Linked DNA regions of Homo sapiens: regions 1 and 3 are each linked to region 2. Evidence: promoter capture Hi-C in 16 types of primary human blood cells and fetal thymus (Javierre and others, 2016). All regions are on one chromosome and are shown on one strand. The core of a region is centred on a gene start or on the middle of the fragment in contact, and the rest is flanking DNA. Distances in the headings are between cores, read along the strand shown. Region 1 overlaps EPRS1 (glutamyl-prolyl-tRNA synthetase 1). Region 2 holds the start of FAM177B (family with sequence similarity 177 member B). Region 3 overlaps RAB3GAP2 (RAB3 GTPase activating non-catalytic protein subunit 2).

What was found. Contacts are between HindIII fragments. The CHiCAGO score rates a contact against its expected background, and 5 or more counts as called.
Region 1: a fragment that was not itself captured here is called in contact with the fragment with the promoter of FAM177B in region 2 in 1 of 17 cell types (monocytes); the score reaches 6.1 in monocytes.
Region 3: a fragment that was not itself captured here is called in contact with the fragment with the promoter of FAM177B in region 2 in 1 of 17 cell types (neutrophils); the score reaches 5.4 in neutrophils.

The regions. Positions count from the first base shown.
Region 1 is chr1:219,984,032-219,986,731 of GRCh38, reverse strand. It overlaps EPRS1 (glutamyl-prolyl-tRNA synthetase 1), which reads left to right. Exons shown (of 32, transcript NM_004446.3): 21 at 2,475-2,526. Among named protein-coding and RNA genes, the nearest start is that of SLC30A10, 57 kb to the right of the region's middle. The HindIII fragment of the contact is 4,066 bases long and covers 1-2,700 here.
Region 2 is chr1:222,735,831-222,738,530 of GRCh38, reverse strand. It overlaps FAM177B (family with sequence similarity 177 member B), which reads right to left and starts at 1,329. Exons shown (of 6, transcript NM_001394345.1): 1 at 1,209-1,329; 2 at 510-627. RefSeq lists an enhancer at 1,546-2,087. The HindIII fragment of the contact is 3,071 bases long and covers 1-2,377 here.
Region 3 is chr1:220,188,025-220,190,724 of GRCh38, reverse strand. It overlaps RAB3GAP2 (RAB3 GTPase activating non-catalytic protein subunit 2), which reads left to right. Exons shown (of 35, transcript NM_012414.4): 15 at 205-348; 16 at 579-661; 17 at 958-1,022. Among named protein-coding and RNA genes, the nearest start is that of MIR664A, 11 kb to the left of the region's middle. The HindIII fragment of the contact is 3,385 bases long and covers 1-2,700 here.

The DNA of each region.
Region 1 (2,700 bases), core at 25-2,524, 2.8 Mb after region 2:
ATTGTTTTGCACCTTAAGCAGATTTTTTTCAGATGAAGATCTTTTGTGGGGACTAAGTGAGAGCTTCATTCTCAATTTAAAAATTGATAGTTTAAATATAAGACAAAACTGACTAAAGACAAAATGGTTGGATAGAGGGCTCTTTAAGGATCTTCCAATCTGTATAAATAATGTACGGTCATACACCACATAATGATGTGTCAGTCAACAGTGGACTACATATATGACATTGGTCCATAAGATTATAATGGAGCATGTATGGAAACCTGATATATGGCACTTGATATTGGCATCGCAGATCAAGTGGGGGAAATTATTGATATTCAGTAATGTTGCTGGGATATTTGGTTTTCCATATAAAAATATATGTATATCATCTAGGTTTGTGTAAGTACAAGCTATGATGTTTGCACAATGATGAAATCACCTAACAGCGTATTTCTGAAAATGTATTCATGTCATTAAGTGACGCATAATTGTAATTTTTTATCTGTTTCCACAATTACAGTGAACTTTGTGATGGGTTTCCCTTAATGGCTTACTTAATAAGAAGAAAAAGCTGTTACTGAGATACTTTGGTTTTACATTTGTTTAGCTGAGTATCAAATTTTGCTGCCTCTTAGCTCTCATGTCATATACACAATGTCTCTTTAAACAAGAGAATGCAACAGTTATTTTTCCTTTTGACTATTAAACTGAATAACCAGAGTTATAGCAGGGTAGAAGAGAATGTAGAACTTCTCACCTTTTACTTTCTTAGTGCCTGTGAAAGTGCTAGGTTTCACAGAGTTATTTTGTTGAGGTATGTCATAGTGAAACAATGGAGAATGCAAATGCAAATACATTAAAATTTTTAGCCAGTAAAACCTTGTTTTTAAACTCCAAAAAGAGACCATCTCTATCCTGAATAATTGTTGATATTTCAAGAAAATGATTATTGTCTGAAATAGTTTTTTTATTGGAGACCTAGTTTATTTTACAAGCATCTATCTCTGCAACTTTTATTCTAGTTAAAAGAAAAACTTGAGGCCAGGCGTGGTGGTTCACACCTGTAATGCCAGCACTTTGGGAGGCTGGGATGGGTGGATCGCTTGAGGTCAGGAGTTTGAGACCAGCCTGGCCAACATGTCAAAGCTCCGCCTCTACTAAAAATACAAAAAAATTAACCAGGAATGGTGGCACACACCTGTAATCCCAGCTACTTGGGTGGGGGAGGGGGGCTGAGGCACGAGAATCGCTTAAACCTGGGAGGTGGAGGTTGCAGTGAGTCTAGATTGCACCAGTGCACTCCAGCCTGGGCGATGGGGTGAGACTGTTTCAAAAAAAGAAAAAGAAAAACTTACATAAATTTGGCTAATATGCACACATCAGTACACACACATATGTGTGTGTATTTATAGCCATTGTTTTTATTACTTTTTAGGTGTTACTTTCAGTGAAACAGTGATCTTACTATAATTTTAACTGGCATAAGATTCTTCTTTTTTAGTGGGAGAATAGGTGTGAACAGGCTGTGTCTCTATTACAAATACATTGCCTTAAAAAGAACCTTGTAAAAGAGATGTCTGCATAGAATCATAGCTTTTGTTACATTTGGCTTTCCTAGATTTTGTGGACAATATCTCTCAACTTTTTAAGAGATGTCTCTGCTGTTTTTGTTTCTTTCTTTTTTTTTTTTTTTTCTTTTGAGACGGAGTTTCACTTTTGTTGCCCAGGCTGGAGTGCAATGGCGCAATCTCGGCTCACTGCAGCCTTTACCTCCCAGGTTCAAGCGATTCATTCTCCTGCCTCAGCCTCCCGAGTAGCTGGGATTACAAGCATGCGCCACCACGCCTGGCTCATTTTGTTTTTAGTAGAGACAGGGTTTCTCCATGTTGGTCAGGCTGGTCTCAAACTCCTGACCTCAGGTGATCTGCCTGCCTTGGCCTCCTAAAGTGGTGGGATTACAGGCGTGAGCCACTGTGCCCAGCATTTCTACTGTTTTTTTAGGTTAAAAACATTATCTTAGGGGCTAGGCATGGTGGCTCATGCCTGTAATCCCAGCACTCTGGGAGGCCAGAACAGGAGGATTGCATGAGGCCAGGAGTTCAAGACTGGCCTGGGCAACATAGCGAGACCCTGCCTCTACCAAAAAATAAAAATAAAAAAATAAGCCAGATGTTGTATGCACCTGTAGTCCTAGCTACTGGGGAGGCTGAGGTGAGAGAATCTCTTGAGCTGAGGAGTCCGAGGTTGCAGTGAGACAGGATCACACCATTGCGCTCCAGCCTGGGTGACAGAGTAAGACCCTGTCTCAAAAACAAAACAAGAAAACAACAACGTTATCTTGGGAATGAATATAGAAGAGTTACAAATACAGAAATAACTCATACTGAAGAAAGACTAATCTATTTTGAACTTTAGAGGTTTATTTTTATTCAACCTAAAGCAGTTGCTGAATGAAGATATTTATCTTTTACTTTTCACATCTGCAGGTTGGGTCTTGAGGCAAAAAAAGAAGAAAATCTTGCTGATTGGTATTCTCAGGTGAGTATGCATTCAGTTGATTTTTATGTTTTAAGTCTGTCAATGGCTGCTTTTTATGTTCAGATTCTAAAATATGGGCACAAAGGCAATAGTAATAATGTTGTATAATGCCTTTAATAATACACAGTGTAGTCATTTAACATGACATTATTTTTCAACATGTTAACATAAAGT
Region 2 (2,700 bases), core at 80-2,579:
CCCAGGCTGGTCTTGAACTTCTGGACTCAAGCGATCCTCCTGCCTCAGCCTCCCAAAGTGCTGGGATTACAGGCATGAGCCACTGCGCCCGGCTCAGTTTAATTCTTGGGAGCACCTCTACCTTTTGTTTCTTAAAAACCCCAAATACAGACTATGAAGGATAGTTCCTAAGTATATAATGTAATTAACAGGCCATATAATCTCTCTGACCTTTTAAATATTGTATTACCCCAGGGCTCAGTGATTGGACCTCTTCTCTTTCCTATCTGCTTTCTTGATGATCTCCTTTGGCCCTGTGGCTTTCAATACTATCCACACACAGATGATTGTAACATTTATATTCTCCAGGTCAGACTTTTTCCCTGAGTCTCACAGATCCAACTACCTGCTTGACATCTCTTCTTAGTTGTCTAATGGACATCTCAATCCTAATTTGTCTAAATCTTTGCTCATGCTTTCAGTGCAACTCTCCCTCCATCCCCCCAACACACACATACTCACACATTTACCTCTACTCTTCTGGCAGCCTTCTCATCTCAATAAATGGCAACTCTGTTCTTCCAGTTGCTCAGGCCAACAACACTAAAGTCATTCTTGGTTCTTCTTTAATCACACCTCACATCAAATCTGCCAGGAAATTGTCTTGGATATTTCTGGAATCATACTTTTCATTACTCCACTGCTACCACCCTGGTCTATCATCTCTCACCCTTGCCGTCGTCTCTCACCTAGATTATTGCAGCAGCCTCCTAATTGGCCCCCTCCAGTCTACGCTCGAAAAGGAGCCAGAATTGTTAAATCCTAAGTGAGACCATGTCATGTCTTTGCTTAAAACTCTCCAGTGGGTTCCCGTCTCACCTAGAGTAAAAGCCAAACTCCTCATAATGGCCTACAAGGCTGTATACCTAACCCCTACGAGCTTTCTGACGCCATCTTGTACTACTCTCCCACCACTGACATCACTCTAACCCCACGGGCCTTCTTCCTGCAATTCCCTGACCACACAGGTCCGCCCTCTCTCTCTGCAGAGAGCTCTCTGCTGGCTGCTCTATTAGTCTTTCTTTCCTTAGACTGTTTCCTTGCTCATTTCCAGTCTTTAACTCAAATGGAGACTACACTGAGCTCCGCTTTCAAGGCAACCTCCCATTGCCTTCACCACCACCCTCTGCATCTTACCTCCTGTTTCATTTTTTCTCCTTAGCACTTACCAACACTGAACACTCCATATTCCACCTGTCTCTGTCTTCCCTTTCCTCCCTGTCCTGCCCCTTGGCAGAGGGGGAGGGTTTTACCTGTTATGTTCACTGCTGTATCTTCTGCCCCTATGATGCCTTACACGTAGCTGGAACTCAGTATTTGTTTAACAAATGAATCATACATTTAGTTAAGGTTAATGGGTGGGAGGAGTTATATAACAGATTGGAAAAATAAGAACAGACTTGTAACTGTCTTTATTTCCTGCTTTAGAAATTACTATCTTCATTTAATATTTTTCTGATTACATCTATCTACTAATCATTTCAATTAGCTCCTTCACTGAAACACAGCATTGTAATCTGTACCAAGAAAATAACACACTAGTTCTACATCTTGGCATTTAACTTCAATAAGTAAATATACTATTTTAAGTATGTAACACTTAAACATTTTCTAGAGCTCTTTCCATTTTCATTTATCTAGAAAATGTTTTCAAATGGACTGTTAAAATTCAGCTAAGAACTGATGTTGGGTCATTACGCTGGAGCTAATTAGCATTGCTTGCCTGGAGCTGCTGGTCCCCCTTCCTGCTTCCACCTTTCCTTTTTTCTGAGGTGGTTGAAAGGTCAAACCCCTGGTGAGAGGAGAGAACCAAAGCCCCACTGCGTGCCTCAGATGCAGAGTTTCACAGCGTGGTATTCACTGGGTATTCACCGACATTTCTCTAGGCCCCTTCACCTGAAGGAACTGGCCTGCTCCAATCAGTGACTTGCAGTGTGTGTGTCAGGGGCAAGGATAGAGTGAGGAAAAATGTGAAATAACAAATCACTGCCGCTCCTTGAGAATTACAGGAGCATCACCTGGCAGGATTTTTGTATCCTTATTTTCAGTATTAAACCACATACATGCACCCCACTGCCTGCATGCCTGTCCATGCCTGTCCCACTGTGGTGTTTCACAGCATTTTTTACATCATGGCAGATAGAGAAAATTAGTTGTTTGGAATTCTGGAGGCGACCAGCCTGGGAGCTCCAGCCACCTTAAGTGCTGCCCAGCTAGACACCCAGAAGGCTTCGATCAATAGCTTGAGACAAACTACTTGAGAAGCTCTGCATTAGAGAAGCAAATTCAAGTCTTGACATTTTCTCAGGGGAGTGCTCTGAAAGTGACTATATAAGCTTCTACCGACCTCAAGCAAATCACAGGCATTAGATACATTAAATTGCTGAAGTGATAGCTCTGGCTTTTTGGATATGCACAATCAAATATAGTTTTCTGTTTTATAATTTGTCAACTCCCCTTCCAGATTAACTATTTTGATCCCTTTATTACTATAACATTCTTAAATATTTAAATTTTAAGCAAATTATTCAAATGTCAAATAAAATCTTTAGATACAAACTTATGGTAACCCAAAGTGACATTCCAAGTTTATTTTACACACATTAAGAGATAAGAAACCCAGTATTTTCTAAAGCATGAGTACTCTAATTCTGAAAGAAT
Region 3 (2,700 bases), core at 172-2,671, 2.5 Mb after region 2:
ATTTAATTTTTTAGAATCTTTCAACAAGGCAGAACTCTGCTGGTTGAGCCCTGCTTTACTTATGTACTTGCTATCAGTATTTAGTTGCCTTATTAATGCTCCTAAATTGATAATAATGTTGGGTTTCCTAGCTATAATAAAAGCACCTTTTGGCATTTCTCCTTGTTCTAATATTTTTACCATATTGGTATGTGATTTCTTTAGGCTGCTGTATCCTGGCTATAAAATAATGGGTTTAAATAATGTTACCAGTCAGAGTTGGCAGCCACAGACTTATCAGATCTGTCTGGTTGATCCAGTGTCTGGAAGTGTGAAAACAGTGAACGTTCCCTTCCATTTAGCACTGAGGTAAGGTGTGTCCAGTGTTGCTGATTGACGCTCCTCTGCTAACTTTTCCTAGTTCCTAGGTTTGTTGTACTCTCTTTTGTAGTTGCTATTTTGTTGTTTCCTTTGTCTTTAGACTGATATCTTTAAAGTTAAATAGGAAATATATAAAGGAAAAAAAAGTTGGAGTGTGTCAGAATTAGAAAGAAAATAATTTCACATTCTGTAATAATTTGTTATATTTATTGGTTTAGTGATAAGAAGAGTGAACGAGCCAAGGATATGCACCTAGTGAAGAAACTAGCAGCCTTACTGAAAACAAAATCTCCCAATCTTGGTAGGTATTCTCTCATACAAATAATAAAGCATATTGTTCTATCATCTTTTAAATCAATAAAATATTCTGAATGGAGCAATCAAAATAATGCATGGATGAGCTTATTGGAATTGCTCTGTAAGGCTGAAGTGTGCCATCTAGAGGGTGTTATAATTCATAACAAGAAAACATTAATGTGAGAGAACCCAAAAATCCTTTAGACTCACTGATAGTACAGATATGTTCATTTTCTTTCAGAATAATGTTTCACTGTTATAAAAATTAAAATTTTACTTTGATTATTTTTTTCTTTATAGATTTGGTTGAAACAGAAATAAAGGAATTAATTCTTGATATTAAATACCCTGCAACCAAAAAACAAGTAAGTGTATATAATACACGAACTTTCCTGCTAGTAGCTATAATACATCCTTCTTAAGAAAATCTTTATTTTCCTATTTCCCCCAAACATGAGAGGCTGAAGTCTTCTTTTCACATTTTTATTGTTTATCCCTTTCTTTATTTTCAGATAGAAGTTCCTGTTGTCTCTTTAAAAAAAAAAAAAAAAATTAATATTCATGCCTGTAACTGTAATCCTAGCACTTTGGGAGGCCGAGGCAGGGGGATCATGAGGTCAGTAGTTCGAGACCAGCCTGGCCAACATGGTGAAACCCCGTCTCTACTAAAAATACAAAAAAATTAGTTGGGTCAGTATTGGCGGGCGCCTGTAATCCCAGCTACTCAGGAGCTGAGGCAGGAGAATCATTTGAACCTGGGAGGCGGAGGTTGCAGTGAGCTGAGATTGCACCATTGTACTCCAGCCTGGGTTGCCATACATCTGAGTGTGTTTTATATACACATACCTACACATCCCTACATTATATATATTATATATATAAAATAGTAAATATGTGTGTATGACCACCTACCTTAGGAAATAAAATCTTACCAGGAACTCTAAAGAGCCCTGAGTGTCCCCCCTCAGTCCCATTCCCTTCTCCCATCCCTAAGGTAACTGTAATTTAGAATTTTGTGGTTCTTTCTTTTTCTTTACTTTATAGTTACGTCATTCCTGTGTGGCTCCTTTGAAACCTGTTGATGCATTTCCTGCCTTTTCAAACTTTATATAAATGCAGTCATGCCCTATGTCTTCTGTGACTTTAGTTTTTCCTTCAGGATTATGTTTCTGTGTCATTCATATTGGTGTATGTAGTTATAGTTATAATTGATTCATTTACTATGCCATACAAATTCTGCTCACTGACTAGAATTTATTTACACTCCTGTCAGTGAACGGTTAGGTTGTTTCCAGATTTTTGACATTACAAATGATGCTATGCTTATCCATGTACATATTTCCTCATTCACATATGCAAGAGTCTCTCTGGCGTTTATACCTAAGAGTGGAATTGCTAGGGTGTGAGCTTCTTCAACTGTACTAGTTGATGGCAAATTGTTTCCCAAAATAGTTGTACTAATTTATATTCCCACCTGTTCTGTATGAGTCCCTGTTACTCCACAGCCTCAATATTCCATGGTATTGCCAGACCTTTACTTTTTGCCAGGCTCGTGGTTATAATATGGTCACCACTGGTGATTTCTTTTACTCCCACTCCTCCTATCCAAACCCCTCATAATGCTATTCAAGTCCTAACTCCACAAATTCTTACATAATGCTTCGATCCCCATGGATAACTCTGAACTCCTACTCTACTTTCAATCAAAACTGGATAGTTAATGACTACTTATTTTCTAATTATTTCATGTATGTTAATCATAGCTTCCCCGACTTTTTTTTCTTTAGGTCTTTTAAGCTCCTTCAAGTAGGAACCTTACCAAATACTTGATTTTTATAATTCACAGCATCTAAAATAATGCTACTGTGAAAATGTAAGAAAAAACTGTATCACAGGTTTTTTCTTTTCTCTTACACAGTCACTCGACACTTCTGCCACTAGATGTAGGGTTTTTTTTTTTTTTCCCACACACCAGTCAATTTCTTTGGCAGATTCTCCAGCTAACACCAGCTGGTTATTCTCTAATTCAGTTCGATTCTGACA